Linked DNA regions of Homo sapiens: region 1 is linked to region 2. Evidence: promoter capture Hi-C in 16 types of primary human blood cells and fetal thymus (Javierre and others, 2016). All regions are on one chromosome and are shown on one strand. Each heading gives the region's core, a stretch centred on a gene start or on the middle of the fragment in contact. The rest is flanking DNA. Distances are from core to core; before and after follow the strand shown.

Region 1 (6,953 bases), core at 1,398-3,897, about 56 Mb after region 2:
CATGTACTGCCTACTTCTGCAATACCTCTTACCTCTTATCTCCTACTTTCTTGTGTTCTGTATTCCCACCTGTGTCCTCCTTTCAGTTCCTCAAATACACCTATTTTAGGACCTTTGAACACTGCTTCCTCCACTTGGAACTCTCTCCTCCCTGTCCTCCACCCCCAATCCCTTTGTCTAGTGAACTGCTACTCACTCCTTCAGATTTCAGTTCAAATGTCACTTGCTCAGGGATGTCTTCCTAGATCCTCCAATGTCCTTGCATTCTGCCTCCAAACCAGTCGTAAGAATTTGTAGCTGGACCCAGTGGCTCACGCCTCTAATCCCAGCACTTTCGGAGGCCAAGGCGGGCGAATCACCTGAGGTCAGGAGTTCAAGACCAGCCTGACCAACATAGAAAAACCCCCATCTCTACTACAAATACAAAATTAGCCAGGTGTGGTGGCACATGCCTGTAATCCCAGCTACTCGCAAGGCTGAGGCAGGAGAATCGCTTGAACCCGTGAGACAGAGGTTGCAGTGAGTCAAGATCGCACCAGTGCACTCCATTCTGGGTAACAAGGGGAAAACTCCGTCTCAAAAAAAAAAAAAAAATTGTAGGCCGGGCGCAGTGGCTCATCTGTAATCCCAGCACTTTGGGAAGCCAAGGCGGGTGGATCACAAGGTCAGGAGTTCTAGACCAGCCTGGACAATATGGTGAAACCTCGTCTCTACTAAAAATACAAAAATTAGCTAGGCATGGTGGTCCGCGCCTGTAGTCCCAGCTACTCCGGAGGCTGAGGCAGGAGAATTGCTTGAACCCGGGAGGTGGAGGTTGTAGTGAGCCAAGATCGCACCACTGCACTCCAGCCTGGGCGACAGAGCAAGACTCCATCTCAAAAAAAAAAAAATTTGTAATTATAGGCCAGGCATGGTGGCTCACGCCTGTAATCCCAGCACTTTGGGAGGCCGAAGCTGGTGGATCACGAGGTCAGGAGATGAAGACCATCCTGGCTAACACGGTGAAACCCTGTCTCTACTAAAAATACAAAAAATTACCCAGGAGGCTGAGGCAGGAGAATCACTTGAACCCAGGAGGCAGAGGCTGCAGTGAGCCGAGATTGCACCACTGCACTCCAGCCTGGATGACAGAGCTAAACTCAGTCTCAAAAAAAACACAAAACAAAAAACAAAAACAAACAAAAAAAAAAGATCTTCTAAAAGAAAGAAAGAAGAACTATTCTTTTTTTTTTTTTTTGGAGATGATGTCTGATGTCTCACTCTGTCACCCAGGCTGGAGTGCAGTGGCTTGATCTCGGCTCACTAAAACCTCCGCTTCCCGAGTAGCTGGGATTACAGGCCTGTGCCGCCACACCTGGCTAATTTTTGTATTTTTAGTAGGGATGGAGTTTCGCCATGGTAGCCAAGCTGGTCTGGAACTCCTGACCTCAGGTGATCCGCCCACCTCGGCCTCCAAAGTGCTGAAATTACAGGCGTGAGAGCCACCGCACCTGGCCCGACGAGCTTTTTTTTTTTTTTTGGAGACACAGTCTCGCTCTGTCACCCAGGCTGGAGTACAGTGGCGTGATCTCGGCTCACTACAACCTCTGCCTCCCTGGTTCAAGCAATTCTCCTGCCTCAGCCTCCCGAGTAGCTAGGACTACAGGCATACGCCGCCATGCCCAGCTAATTTTTTGTATTTTTAGTAGAGACGAGGTTTCACCGTGTTGCCCAGGCTGGCCTCGAACTCCTGAGCTCAGGCAATCCAGGTGCCTCGGCCTCCCAAAGTGCTAGGATTACAGGCGTGAGCCACCGCGCCCGGCCACGAATAGCACTGTACTATGCCTGAGACACAGCTAAGTGCTTTATATGGATTACTTCACTATATTCTCAATAATAAGATATTATTATGTATTTCGTCTATTTCACAGGCAAGGAAATCAAACCTCAGAGGCTAAATGTTCCATGACTTCTCCAAGATCATGAAGTAAGCACTGAGTAAGTAGGGAGGGGGAGCAAGGACTCAACCCCTTGCTCCTAATCTTTACTCTATACCGCATTCAGGAGCCGCCAGCTGTATGGGGAACAAGGCCTGGATCCCACCCCAAAGACATGGATTGGAGACCCACCCCTTGGTGACCCTAGACCCGCCAATAGATCGTTGTGAAGCTGCAGTTTCCCTATCTGTAAAATGGGAGCATTTAGTCCACCAGCGCGAAAGGCACGGAGGGAGTTTCCCTATTATATGACCGTACACGAAATCTAGACTGTGACCAAAGTCTCCCGCTCCTCAGCCTCCTCTCCTCCGCATCCTCAGCCACTAGTCACGCTGGAGAGGAGGCGTGGGAACTGACCTCCGCGGGCCGGGCCTCGGCAACGCGCATCCTCCCACCCGGCCTAGCCCAGCCCAGATCGGGGAGGGGGTGCGCGGGGGGAGGAGGTCAGGGGTCACTGAACTTGGGTCACGTGGTCAGCCAAGGGGGCGGGCCCTCGCGGTGCGGGCTCCAAGACTGGTGAGTAAGCAGTCGGCGTCGGGAATGGGGAGTCCTTGGACCAGAGCAAGGCCTGCTCACCTGAAGACCCCGGCGTGGCGAAGGCTGCTACCGAGACGACGGCGGCGGGGGCGGTGGCGGCGGCGCCCACTCACGAGCTCACACTCATTCCCTCTCCCGGGGCCCCGGCCCCGCCCTCCCCAATACAGCCAGTCGGCGGGCGCCTTGGAAAGTTTCCGGCCCTCCAGGAGGCTTCCTGGCTCTTGATTGGCCAGTGTGAACAGACTGTAGAGACCGGCGGTCACGTGACGCTGAAGATTCCCGCTTCTTAAAGCAACCTCTCTTGCTACGTTTGCGAGTAGGTGTGTATTGTTTTAACACACGTTTAATAAGCATATTTTATTTTTTTTACCACCACAATAGTAACGAGGAAATAAACAGTCTCAAAGACAGCGTCTTGATTTTCTTTGTCTTGTTTGCTCGCGAGTTTCTGAGCACCCGCATTTTCGCGACTGCAGCAAAGCTTTAGATTTTGGTGTCTGGCTTAGTTTTCCTGCCCGGCCTACCTCCCCAACATCACATGCCACTTCCCCTTCCTGAAGGGATAGATGGGGCTCTCGGTAGGTGTTCTCGGCAGGCAGAAGGGACTTCTGACCCGGCCGAACATCCCGTGCAAGCTCCGGACTCCAGGGTTCTGCTCTTTCTGCACCTACTTCGCATTCTCCCCACGCCTGTGAACCAAATACAAGCCCTGGCCTACCTCGCCTTGCATGACCGTTGGACACGCACACTGACAGCTCTCTTTCTCCAACTCCCACTGCAATAGCAGCTACTTGGGCAGTTCTTAATTGATAAGCAGTGGGCTTAGTGAGTAAAGGATGGTATTTGGAATCAGACCGACCTGGGTTAAAATTCTGACACTGCCTTTGGGCAAATTACCTAATATGGAGTAATAATGCGCACTTCACAGGGTTGTTGTAAATTAATGTCTGTGAGAGTCCCTGGCAGAGTTGGAGGTTAAACTTCTTTCCCGGCCGGGCGCGGTGGCTCACGCCTGTAATCCCAACATTTTGAGAGGCCGAGGCGGGGGATCACCTGGGGTCGGGAGTTCAAGACCAGCCTGATCAACATGGAGAAAAATCCATCTCAACTAAAAATACAAAATTAGCCGGGTGTGTTGGCACATGCCTGTAATCGCAGCTACTCGGGAGGCTGAGGCAGGAGAATTGCTTGAACCCGGGAGGCGGAGGTTGTGGTGAGCCGAGATCGCGCCACTGCACTCCAACCTGGCCAACAAGAGTGAATCTCCGTCTCAAAAAAAAAAGAGAGAAACTTTCTTTCCCTCACATGTCACAAGGCATACAGTGAATTCCTTTAAGTTCACCCAAGATGGGGTAGTTTGCACTGAGTGAACTGTGGGAACATTCTGCAAGGGAGCATGAATGTACACATTTTTTCTCTTTCCCCCTCTCAGGGTTAGATGCTGCTGCCGCTGGAAAAGAAAATCCCCTGGGACCCGAGCTGGCAAAGCCAGATGGATGCGACTGTGGTTGCCATGGCAACCCCACCTAAGGAGAATGTGACCCTGCTGAGTCTCTTCCACTCATATTCAGAACCATATTAGAAGTGGTTTCAAGTGTCTGCCCACCTGTGCGTTAAGGGAAAGAGAGAGGGCGCTCTCCTCTAAGGTCTGACTGAGCCTGAAGTCAGCTTAGCCAGACCTGGGCAGCTGGCTGACCTCCTTGCTTAGGTTTACTGTTCTGGACAGCCATCAGCAACCTTGGAGACACTAGAAGATGGGAGGGAGACCGGGACTGCCCGGGACCTATTAGATGTAGTGAACCTGTATCCAACCTGTCTGGAGCTCATTTGCTCCCAATCTGAGTGGAGGCAGGAACCAGGGAAGGCAGTAGTGAGACCTCCATGGCCACAGATGGGAGAAAGGTGGCTCGCTCCACACACCCAATGCCTGGCAAGAACTATGATGGCTTTGGTGTCAGACTTTTTTTCTTTTTTCCTTTTTTTGAGACGGAGTAACACCCTGTTGCCCAGGCTGGAGTGCAGTGGCGCAATCTTGGCTCACTACAACCTCCACCTCCCAGGTTCAAATGATTCTCCTGCCTCAACCTCCCAAGTAGCTGGGATTACAGGCACTTGCCACTACCACCAGCTAATTTTTGTGTTTTTAGTAGAGACAGGGTTTTCACCATGTTGGCTAGGCTGGTCTCCAACTCCTGACCTTGTGATCCACCCGCCTCTGCCTCCCAAAGTGCTGGGATTACAGGCATGAGCCACTGTGCCTGGTCAAAGTCAGACTGTTTTTATTCATTTATTTTTATTTTTATTTATTTTTTGAAACTGAGTCTCGCTCTGTCGCCCAGGTTGGAGTGCAGTGGCGTGATAGCTCACTGCAACCTCTGCCCTCCCAGTTTCAAGTGATTCTCCTGCCTTAGCCTCTGGAGGAGCTGGGATTACAGGTGTCCGACACCATGCCTGGCTAAGTGCTGTAAGTTTTGTATTTTTAGTAAAGATGGGGTTTCGCCATGTTGGCCAGGCTGGTCTTCAACTCCTGACCTTGTGATCCGCCCGCCTCAGCTTCCCGAAGTGCTGGGATTACAGGCATGAGCCACCATGCCCGGCCAATTTTTTTTTTTTTTTTTTTTTGAGACAGAGTCCTTGCTCTGTTGCTAAGGCTAGAATGCAGTGGAGCAATCTCAGCTTACTGCAACCTCCACCTCCCCGGTTCAAGCGATTCTTGTGCCTCAGCCTCCTGAGTAGCTGGGATTACAGGCACGCACCACCATACCTGGCTAATTGTCGTATTTTTAGTAGAGACTGGGTTTTGCCATGTTGGCTAGGCTGTTCTCAAACTCCTGACCTCAAGTGATCCGCGCACCTCGGCCTCTCAAAGTGCTGGGATTACAGGCATGAGCCACCACAACAAGCCCAGACTGTTTTTAAAAAATCACAGCTCACCAGCTGTGTGACCTTAGGCATATTAGTTCACCTGTCTGACCTGTCTCATCAACTATAAAGCGGGATAACGAAATCTACTCCATGGAACTGTTGTGAAGATTCAGAAAAGTGTGTAAAGGATTTAGCATGTTGCCAAGCACATGGTACTCTATTAGCCTGTGACCGCTTTAGGAGGCTGTAACTTTCAGAATCCCTTAGTACCAACCTTAAAAGCTCAGAAGAGGCGGGGCGCGGCGGCTCATGCCTGTAATCCCAGCACTTTGGGAGGCCGAGGCGGGCAGATCACCTGAGGTCAGGAGTTTGAGACCAGCCTGATCAACATGGAGATACCTTGTCTCTACTAAAAATACAAAATTAGTTGGGCGTGGTGGCACATGCCTGTAATCCCAGCTACTTGGGAGGCTGAGGCAGGAGAATCCCTTGAACCCAGGAGGCGGAGGTTTCGGTGAGCCAAGATCGTACCATTGCACTCCAGCCTGGGCGACAGAGTGAGACTCTGTCTCAAAAAAAAAAAAAAAAAAAAGCTCAGAAGAGTTCTGGAAACCATCTCCAGGGCATCCCCACTTGTTCCCTTCCCCACTAGAGTGCCAGGCTTTTTTTTTTTCCTTTTTTTTTTTAATTAGTGCCAGCCTTTTCGATGCCACACCCTACATCCTCACCAGCACCCACATGCTCAGGATCCATGAGCTGCTTCTCTGTCCATCAATTTCTTCCTTTCAGGCTTGGTGTTATTCCCCTATTTGAGAACTTAGGAAGAACTCCAGGACTCCAGTGATCCTCCCACCTCAGCCTCCTAAGTACCTGAGACTACAGATACACACCACTGCACTGGCTTTGGGATGCATTATATAATAATTATGATAATTAAAAGTTGAGTGCCCATCATGGACCAGGCTCTATGCCAGCCACTTGAACATATGATGTCTGATACAGCAGCCTCCAAAGAGGGTTTTCTGCCCATTTTATAATGAGGAAACAGAAGGTCATCCAGCTAAGACTCTTTTCTTTTCTTTTTTTTTTTTTTTGAGATGGAGTCTCACTCTGAAGCCCAAGCTGGAGTGCAGTGGAGGGATCTCAGCTCACTGCAACCTCCCCCTCCCGGGTTCAAGCAATTTACCTGCCTCATCTCTTATCCTCTTGAGTCCAGCTAAGACTTAAACCAGCTCTGTATCAATCCAAATACCATGCTTTCTTGTTTTCTGCCACAGAGCTCTGTTTCCCAGGGAAGTCAAAGAAAGTTAAAGAAAAAATAATAATAATAATTGAAATGAGATTTCATAGATTAGTAGATAGGAAATGGACAAGCTGGGAAAGGGCATTCCAAGGTAGACAAAATAGTATTGCAGAGGTATAGTGCCAGGGAAAATTGGCATGTTTCTTTAATCCTGTAGGCATTTCATACATTTTTTGTCACCCTAACTAGATTGTGAGCCCTTTTACATCTTCAGTTCAGTTTAGTATAGTGATATACTATTGTTTATATACCCAACTTAGGAAAGGCTGTGT
Region 2 (7,517 bases), core at 125-2,624:
GTAATCCCAGCACTTTGGGAAGCCGAGGCAGGTGGATCACCTGAGGTCAGGAGTTTGAGACCAGCCTGGCCAACATGGCAAAACCCCTCTCTACTAAAAATACAAAAATTAGCTGGTCGTGGTGGCACGCGCCTGTAATCCCAGCTACTCGGGAGGCTGAGGCAGGAGAATCGCTTGAACCTGGGAGGCAGAGGCTGCAGTGAGCCGAGATCCCGCCACTGCGCTCCAGCCTGGGTAACTCCGCGGCCCCTCCCCACCCAGCAAAAAAAGATGACACCACTGCCGTTATTACCTAAAATCTAGATCTGGATCGGTTGCGTTTTTCATAACACCAGAACGACGATTTAAGAAAAGGTAGACAAATTACAAGCGCTGCCGTTCAGGAGACGGGGGACTTACGAGTGGAACATGGAGGCCAGCATAAGCTTCTCATTAGAAGTGAGGCGGGGCCGGCCAAATCGAATGGACACCGGGTAATTAGCAGGGTTACCCAGATACTCCAGCACCTCTTTCCCGTCGGCCGTGTACCTGCCATTCACGTCCATGCCATTGATGGCCAGCACTGCATGACCCACTGCAGAGGTGAAGCTAACGGTCAGCGAAGGTGCAGCCCGGGGATTCCGCCGAGGGGACAAGGGACCCGACACAACCCCTTTTCCCCCAACCCCGCACCTACAACCAGCCCACTTCTACAGCACTGGGGCCCTCCCACCCCCGCACCCGCCACGGGCCCGAGCCTAGCCCACCTCGGATGCCGTCCCGCTGGCCGAAAGCAACCAACACACGCTCATCGTGTAGCTTGAGCAGCAGATCCAGCGGATAACTGAAAGTTTTCTCAGCCTCAGCCCGTGGCGCGTAGCTGTCCAACTGGTAAATCAAGCCGCCAGCTTTGTTCACCACATACACACTAAAAATCGCCATCGCTGCCTTGCCGCTCGGAAACTGGTATTCAGCCTCTACCCGACGGCCCCTCCCCGGAACCGCATCACAGCACTTGCCGCCGGCCCCACCCCAGCCTCCTCCTCCTCCTCCTCCTCCTCCCGCGCCCCCCGTGCAGCCACCTGCTGCACTTGCGCACTGGGAGCGACACGCTCGGGCATAAGTAGTGCCGGAAAGTTAGCTGCCGAGACCTGGTGGATTGCTTTTCGTTTATCAGTGCAGGAAAACAGCGCTATAGTATGCGTCACAACTAGCGCAGACTCCGGCAGTATTTAGGCGGTGCGGCTTGGGAACTAGAATCCACTTCCTGTCTTCCGCCTCAGGCTAGAGGGCGAGCGCTTCGCCGTGGGACTTCTTCTGCCTGGCTCCGCCTTTTGCCCCGGAAGTACTCACAGCGGACGGTGGTTTTTGGGCCCGTTTCTGAGCAGCGCTTCCTTTTTGTCCGACATCTTGACGAGGCTGCGGTGTCTGCTGCTATTCTCCGAGCTTCGCAATGGTAAGCTTCAGGGGTGTGAAGTCGCCGGCGTTCTTGGGTTTGAGGACTCAGTGGGGAGAGCCTTCGGCGGGAGCGCTCCTTGGCCTGCCGGCCTCGGTTGCAGGGCGGGCGCGGTTATTGCTTGGCCCATGTGCTCTGGTGGTGGAGTTTGCGGGGGCTGAGGGCGCAGTATTAGGGGACTTTGGCGCTATTTGAGGACCTGGTTGCATTCCCGCTGCCCTCCTACAGCCGCCTAAGGACGACAAGAAGAAGAAGGACGCTGGAAAGTCGGCCAAGAAAGACAAAGACCCAGTGAACAAATCCGGGGGCAAGGCCAAAAAGAAGGTAGAAATAAGACCTCTCTGAAAGAGACTAGGGGTAACTCTCTCGTAATCCTCTAGTAATAGGTAACTTGTATAGTAAGTGGTTTTTCAGGTGTAGATTTCTAGAGTCAAAATGTGAGAGTTTATCTTCCCGTCACCACTCGTTCTTTTTCCCATTAGGATCATGAAAATGGGTCTGTTGTGCGAAGTGTCTGCCGCTGTGCCTGCTGTGTTATTTTTAACTGATCTAGTGGGGCTCGGCCCCTGTTTGAAGGCCAAAAACGTGTCGGTGTTTTTTTTTTGTTTTTGTTTTAGTAATGTGTAATTTATCCTTGATAACGGTGGAACAGATTTCTCTGACGCAGATTACTCGAGAGGGAAAGGGTGCTTCTGCCAGAAATACTAACTTGTTTCTGTTTTGTTTTGGTGAGCAGAAGTGGTCCAAAGGCAAAGTTCGGGACAAGCTCAATAACTTAGTCTTGTTTGACAAAGCTACCTATGATAAACTCTGTAAGGAAGTTCCCAACTATAAACTTATAACCCCAGCTGTGGTCTCTGAGAGACTGAAGATTCGAGGCTCCCTGGCCAGGGCAGCCCTTCAGGAGCTCCTTAGTAAAGGTGAGGGGTGTATCCTACATGTGTGTTTTTGTAGGTTAAATTGTCTTGACCATGTTAAGCATCTTCAGTGGTTTTGCTGGAAAAGCAGAATTAAAAAAAAAAAGCGTGGCTTGACCATTGGCTGTTAGTAATGTAATTCTGACGTCTTACTCCTGATCCTGAGATGAATTCTCAGGGTTCTTAGCCACTTTTGTGCCGTGGACCCTGTGGCAGTTTAGTGAAGCCCAAGGATCTTTTATGTTTCGAGTAAATGGATGCATAGAATTACAGGGACAACCGTTTTTGAAATAATTAGATTACTATTTTGAAACAACTTTGAAAATGTTTAAAACCTTTATGGTAAATATTTTGTTGATGTATTAAATTTTAAAACCAGAAATTTAGTACGGTCTACTCAGTAGTATGGTCTGATTACCATAATTCCACAATAATAAGGCTCAGCTAACTATAGTGACTGAACGTCTATAATTCTAGCACTTTGGGAGGCCAAGGCGGGTGAATCAACGGAGGTCAGGAGTTAAAGACCAGCCTGGCCAATATGGTGAAAACCTGCTCTACTGAAAGTTAGCTGGACGTGGGGGCACACGTCTGTAATCCCAGCTACTCAGGATGCTGAGGCATGAGGATCCCTTGAACCCAGGAGATGGAGGTGGCAGTGAGCCGAGATGACACCACTGCACTCCAGCCTTAGTGACAGCAAAAGACTGTCTCAGAAAGGGGGGGGGGGTGGAAGATAATGGAGCCCTAATTTAAAGGAAAAGTAAGGATAGATGATCGTTAAAAACTAGGATTCTCGGTTACCGAACGTCAGATTAAGCAATTCTGGAGCCAGGTGCAGTGGTACCCTTGTATTTCTAGCTACTTGGGAGGCCAAAGCAGGAGGATCATTTGAGCCAAGGAGTTTTAAGACCATTCTGGGCACCTCTGAGAGAACTCTGTCTTTTTGTTTTCCTTTTCTTTAAATAGAGATGCGGTTTTGCCATGTTGCCCAGGCTGGTCTCCTGGGCTCAAGAGATCCACCTGTCCAAAGTGCTGGGATTACAGGCATGAGCCTCTGCACCCGGCCAAAACAAACCTTACTAGAGTCTCATTCTGTTGCCCAGGTTGGAGTGCGGAGGGGCAGTCTTGGCTCAATGCAACCACCAATTCCTGGGTTCAGGTGGTCCTCACCTCAGCTTCCCAAGTAGCTGGAATTACAAGCATGTGCCACCATGCCCAGCTAATTTTTGTATTTTTGGTAGAGATGGGGTTTCACCTTGTTGGCCAGGCTGGTGTGCAACTCCTTACCTCAAGCTATCTGCCCGTCTCCACCTCCCAAAGCAGTGGGATTATAAGCATGAGCCACCGCGCCCAGCCAAAAACCTTACTAGTTTCTATTGTAGCATCTGTTAAGCATCTCATCGTGCTATTCTCTCCCCCTAGGACTTATCAAACTGGTTTCAAAGCACAGAGCTCAAGTAATTTACACCAGAAATACCAAGGGTGGAGATGCTCCAGCTGCTGGTGAAGATGCATGAATAGGTGAGTAGGAATGTGTGGGCTCATGGTGTAGGAGGTAGATACAAAGCTTTATGGTTCTGATTCTTTTAATTTTTTTTTACAGGTCCAACCAGCTGTACATTTGGAAAAATAAAACTTTATTAAATCAAATGAATGAGTATGTCTGTTTCCTAAGAAAGACAATGATAAAGAATTTGGTGGAAGGTATAATAGGGGTTTGTTGACTTTGCTTTTAGCCTCATGGTAGTTGGTAGAGAGCATGATTAGCTTTTTTCTGTATGTGACTGCTTCTTCATTGCTGCAGCTTCAGTTTTGAATTGATGTCTGAAAGGAAATAAAGGGTTAACACGATGATGAAGGGTGACATCTCCAAAAAGGAGGTTGGATGGGTAGGTTGGAGACCCGGCACTGAACACACATACCTGGACTGCCAGCGGCGTCCATTATTCCAGACGCGGCCAAAAGAGGGCAGCCAGCCTGCACTGGTCCTGGAGCTGTGATCAAAGTTGGCCCCAACTCGGTCTGGGGGGAGTTTTTTCAACTTCTGTTTTTCCTCTGTACAATGATAGGGAAACTTTTATTTTTCTTTATTGAAGAATATAGAGATGGGGTCTCACTATGTTGTCCAGGCTGTTTTCAAACTTCTGGGCTCAAGTGACCCTCCCACCTCAGCCTCCCAAAATGCTAGGATTATAGCCATGAGCCACCACACACAGGCAAGGAAACCATTTTTGAGTGTGAAGATTTAGACGATCCTCTCTTGAATTAGTTTACTTACTTTCTTTAAGAAATTCTTCATAGGATGGTCCTATTTCTTGGTTCCCAGCAATGTATTCTTCATCTTGGATCATCCAGGGAGGTGTGGCACCTGAAAAAAAAATTAAGGCTTTTTTTTTTTTTTTTAAGTCTTCAGGCTATTGTGAAACATGTCCTAGCTGTTAGCTTACCTCTCCTCATTAAGAGCTAGAAATGTCTAAAAGCAAAGCCCAGGAATTCTGGAGCTTTAGAAGGCCCTAGGCTAATTTAAAGCGACATACCCCATATGTGACAGTCATTTTAAAATGGCTTTGAGGCACAACTGACATAAACGATACACACTTAAATTTGGTGACTTTTGAGCGAAGCCATTACAATCTAGACCCCAAACATCCCCCTGTAAGTATCACTGCCCCCATTAAAATATTTTCATGTCCAGGCAATCGGTGATCTTTCAGTTGCTTTATTGGTTTGTATTTTTTAGGATTTTCTGTGTGTGGACATTGAGGTGGGGTCTGGCCTTTTGTTTTTTTGAGAGGAGTCTCGCTCTAGCCCAGGCTGGACACAATCTCAGCTCACTGCAACCTCCGCCTCCCAGGTCTCGGTTCAAACAATTCTGCCTCAGCCTCCCAAGTAGCTGGGATTACAGGCGTGCGCTGCGATGCCCAGCTAATTTTTGAATTTTTAGTAGAGATGGGGTTTCACCATGTTGGCCAAACTGGTCTTGAACTCCTGACCTCGTGATCCGCCTGCCTTGGCCTCCCAAAGTGTCGGGATTACAGGCATGAGCCACCACGCCGGCCAGGTCTGGACTTCTGAGATTCATCTGTGTCGTACGTATCAATAATTCTGTCTTCATCCTGGAATACTATTCCATTGTTAATCCATTTGCCTGTTGATAGACATCTGAATTGTTTCCAATTTGGAGCTGCTACAAGTGAAGCTGTTCTGAAGATTTGTGTACAAGTCTATGTAGACAGGCTTTCTTTTCTCTAGTTAGGGGTGGAACGGTTGGATAATGTGGTAGGTGTATCCCAAACTGTTTTCCAAAGTGACTGTACCAGTTTACATTCTAAGAGCAGTGTATGAAGGTTTGGTTTTTCTACACTGCCAAACACTTGGCATGATCAGTCTTTAATTTCTGCCATTCCAATACATATGTAGTGGTATTTCACTGTGGTTTTAATTTGCATTTCTCTAATGACTAATGTTGAACATTATTCATATGCTTTTATTGGGTTGTTTCCTTATCAAGTTGACAGTTCTTCATATATTCTGGATATAAGGCTTTTACCGATACATACGCTTTATCTTGGCCAACTTTATTTAAAAAAAAAAAAAAAGTCCGGGCACGGTGGCTCATGCCTGTAATCCCAGCACTTTGGGAGGCCGAGGCGGGTGGATCACGAGGTCAGGAGATCGAGACCATCCCGGCTAAAACGGTGAAACCCCGTCTCTACTGAAAATACAAAAAATTAGCTGGGCGTAGTGGCGGGCGCCTGTAGTCCCAGCTACTTGGGAGGCTGAGGCAGGAGAATGGCGTGAACCCGGGAGGCGGAGCTTGCAGTGAGCCGAGATCCCGCCACTGCACTCCAGCCTGGGCGACAGAGCGAGACTCCGTCTCAAAAAAAAAAAAAAAAAAATTAGCTGGGTGTGGTGGTGCACACCTGTAACCCCAGCTACTTGGGAGGCTGAGGCAGAAGAATCACTTGAACCTGAGAGGCAGAGGTTGCAGCGAGCTGAGATTGCGCCACTGCACTCCAGCCTGGCGACAGAACAAGACTCCATCTCAAAAAAAAAAAAAAATCTCCCAGGGTTTTAAAAACACTGCCCTGGACCTTACCTGAGTGGATGTTACCAACTCCTGGTATATCCTGTAGTTGGAAATGGGAAAAAAAGTGCTAGTTAAAGTCTAGGCATGATTAAAAAAAAAAATCCTAGAAACGATAGACAAAGCACACTTTAAAAGAGGTGGGTGTGACTGCTGCCACAATGCTAATTCTGCACCCCAGCTGATGTTAAACTTTGAAAGCACAGTAAGTCACTCTAAGACAACCCTGTCCTCAGGAAGCTCACAGTCATAACAGTGGAGATGTCTGTAAGTAGAGTGGCTATTACATGCCAGGGGAGCAAAACCTTGCCCTCACAGCATACATATAATTGGGGAAGAGCATTAAGCACAAGTTACGTAAATTACATTTGCAACTTTACATGGTGCTACATCCACTTGAAATAGAGATAACCTGTTCAGATAAGCCTTTTATGAAAAAGTGACATTTGAGCTAACAGTTGAAGGTAAACTAGGTGATGAGGGAAGGAAAGCAGGTTTTAGACAATGGCAACTGCAAAAGCCCGAAGCAACACAATACAGCTGAAGTGTAGAGTAAAATCATAAGTGGTACAATGATTTTCTGTTTGTGAGGCAGGATTGAAGGGGGAGTAGAAATTGCCCAAAGGCTGAATGGAGGCAGACAGGTTAAAATTGACCGCTTGTTGACAGGATATGGGAGATGGAAAAGGAAAGGATCTGCATCTAGTGATTGGAAATATAGGAGTGGTGGGGGTTAGTTTCAGATGCCTGTGGGATATTTAATGTCCTGTGTTGAGTTGGAACTATGAGTTCTACAGAGGGCAAGATTTAGGAGTTGGCACTCCTAAGTGTCAATACATGTGAATAGGATCGCTTTGGAGGGTGAGAAGAGGTCTGAGAACACTACTAGGGAACAGTGAAGGAAGAAGGAAAAGCCTGCAGTGGAGGCAGCAGTGGCTTGAATAGGTAGAAAATCAGGAGAAAGGGGTCCTGAGACCTGAGGGACCATTGGCCCTCTTCTGGCTTGCTTATCCTTTGTACCTGATGGCCAATGAATGTCAGAGATGGTCCTGTCTCCATCCAGTCAAGCTCTGGA

Evidence for each region. Contacts are between HindIII fragments. The CHiCAGO score rates a contact against its expected background, and 5 or more counts as called.
Region 1: a contact is called between the fragment with the promoter of TAF6L here and the fragment with the promoter of RPS25 in region 2, in 1 of 17 cell types (fetal thymus). The highest score is 7.6, in fetal thymus.

Annotation. Positions count from the first base shown.
Region 1 is chr11:62,767,090-62,774,042 of GRCh38, reverse strand. It overlaps TAF6L (TATA-box binding protein associated factor 6 like), which reads right to left and starts at 2,647. Exons shown (of 11, transcript NM_006473.4): 1 at 2,553-2,647. It also overlaps a transcript of TMEM223 not described here. RefSeq lists enhancers at 2,058-2,197, 4,360-4,409 and a silencer at 2,388-2,797. The HindIII fragment of the contact is 6,431 bases long and covers 1-2,996 here.
Region 2 is chr11:119,012,200-119,019,716 of GRCh38, reverse strand. RPS25 (ribosomal protein S25) reads left to right here and starts at 1,374. Exons shown (of 5, transcript NM_001028.3): 1 at 1,374-1,435; 2 at 1,664-1,759; 3 at 2,172-2,355; 4 at 3,778-3,876; 5 at 3,959-4,000. The coding sequence starts at 1,433. The coding sequence ends at 3,872. TRAPPC4 (trafficking protein particle complex subunit 4) reads right to left here and starts at 951. Exons shown (of 5, transcript NM_016146.6): 1 at 747-951; 2 at 400-574. The coding sequence starts at 921. It overlaps CENATAC (centrosomal AT-AC splicing factor), which reads right to left. Exons shown (of 11, transcript NM_198489.3): 7 at 7,463-7,517; 8 at 6,455-6,485; 9 at 4,634-4,723; 10 at 4,278-4,410; 11 at 3,924-4,179. The coding sequence ends at 4,119. RefSeq lists enhancers at 380-1,078, 1,333-1,562, 1,583-1,652 and a silencer at 973-1,092. The HindIII fragment of the contact is 1,015 bases long and covers 428-1,442 here.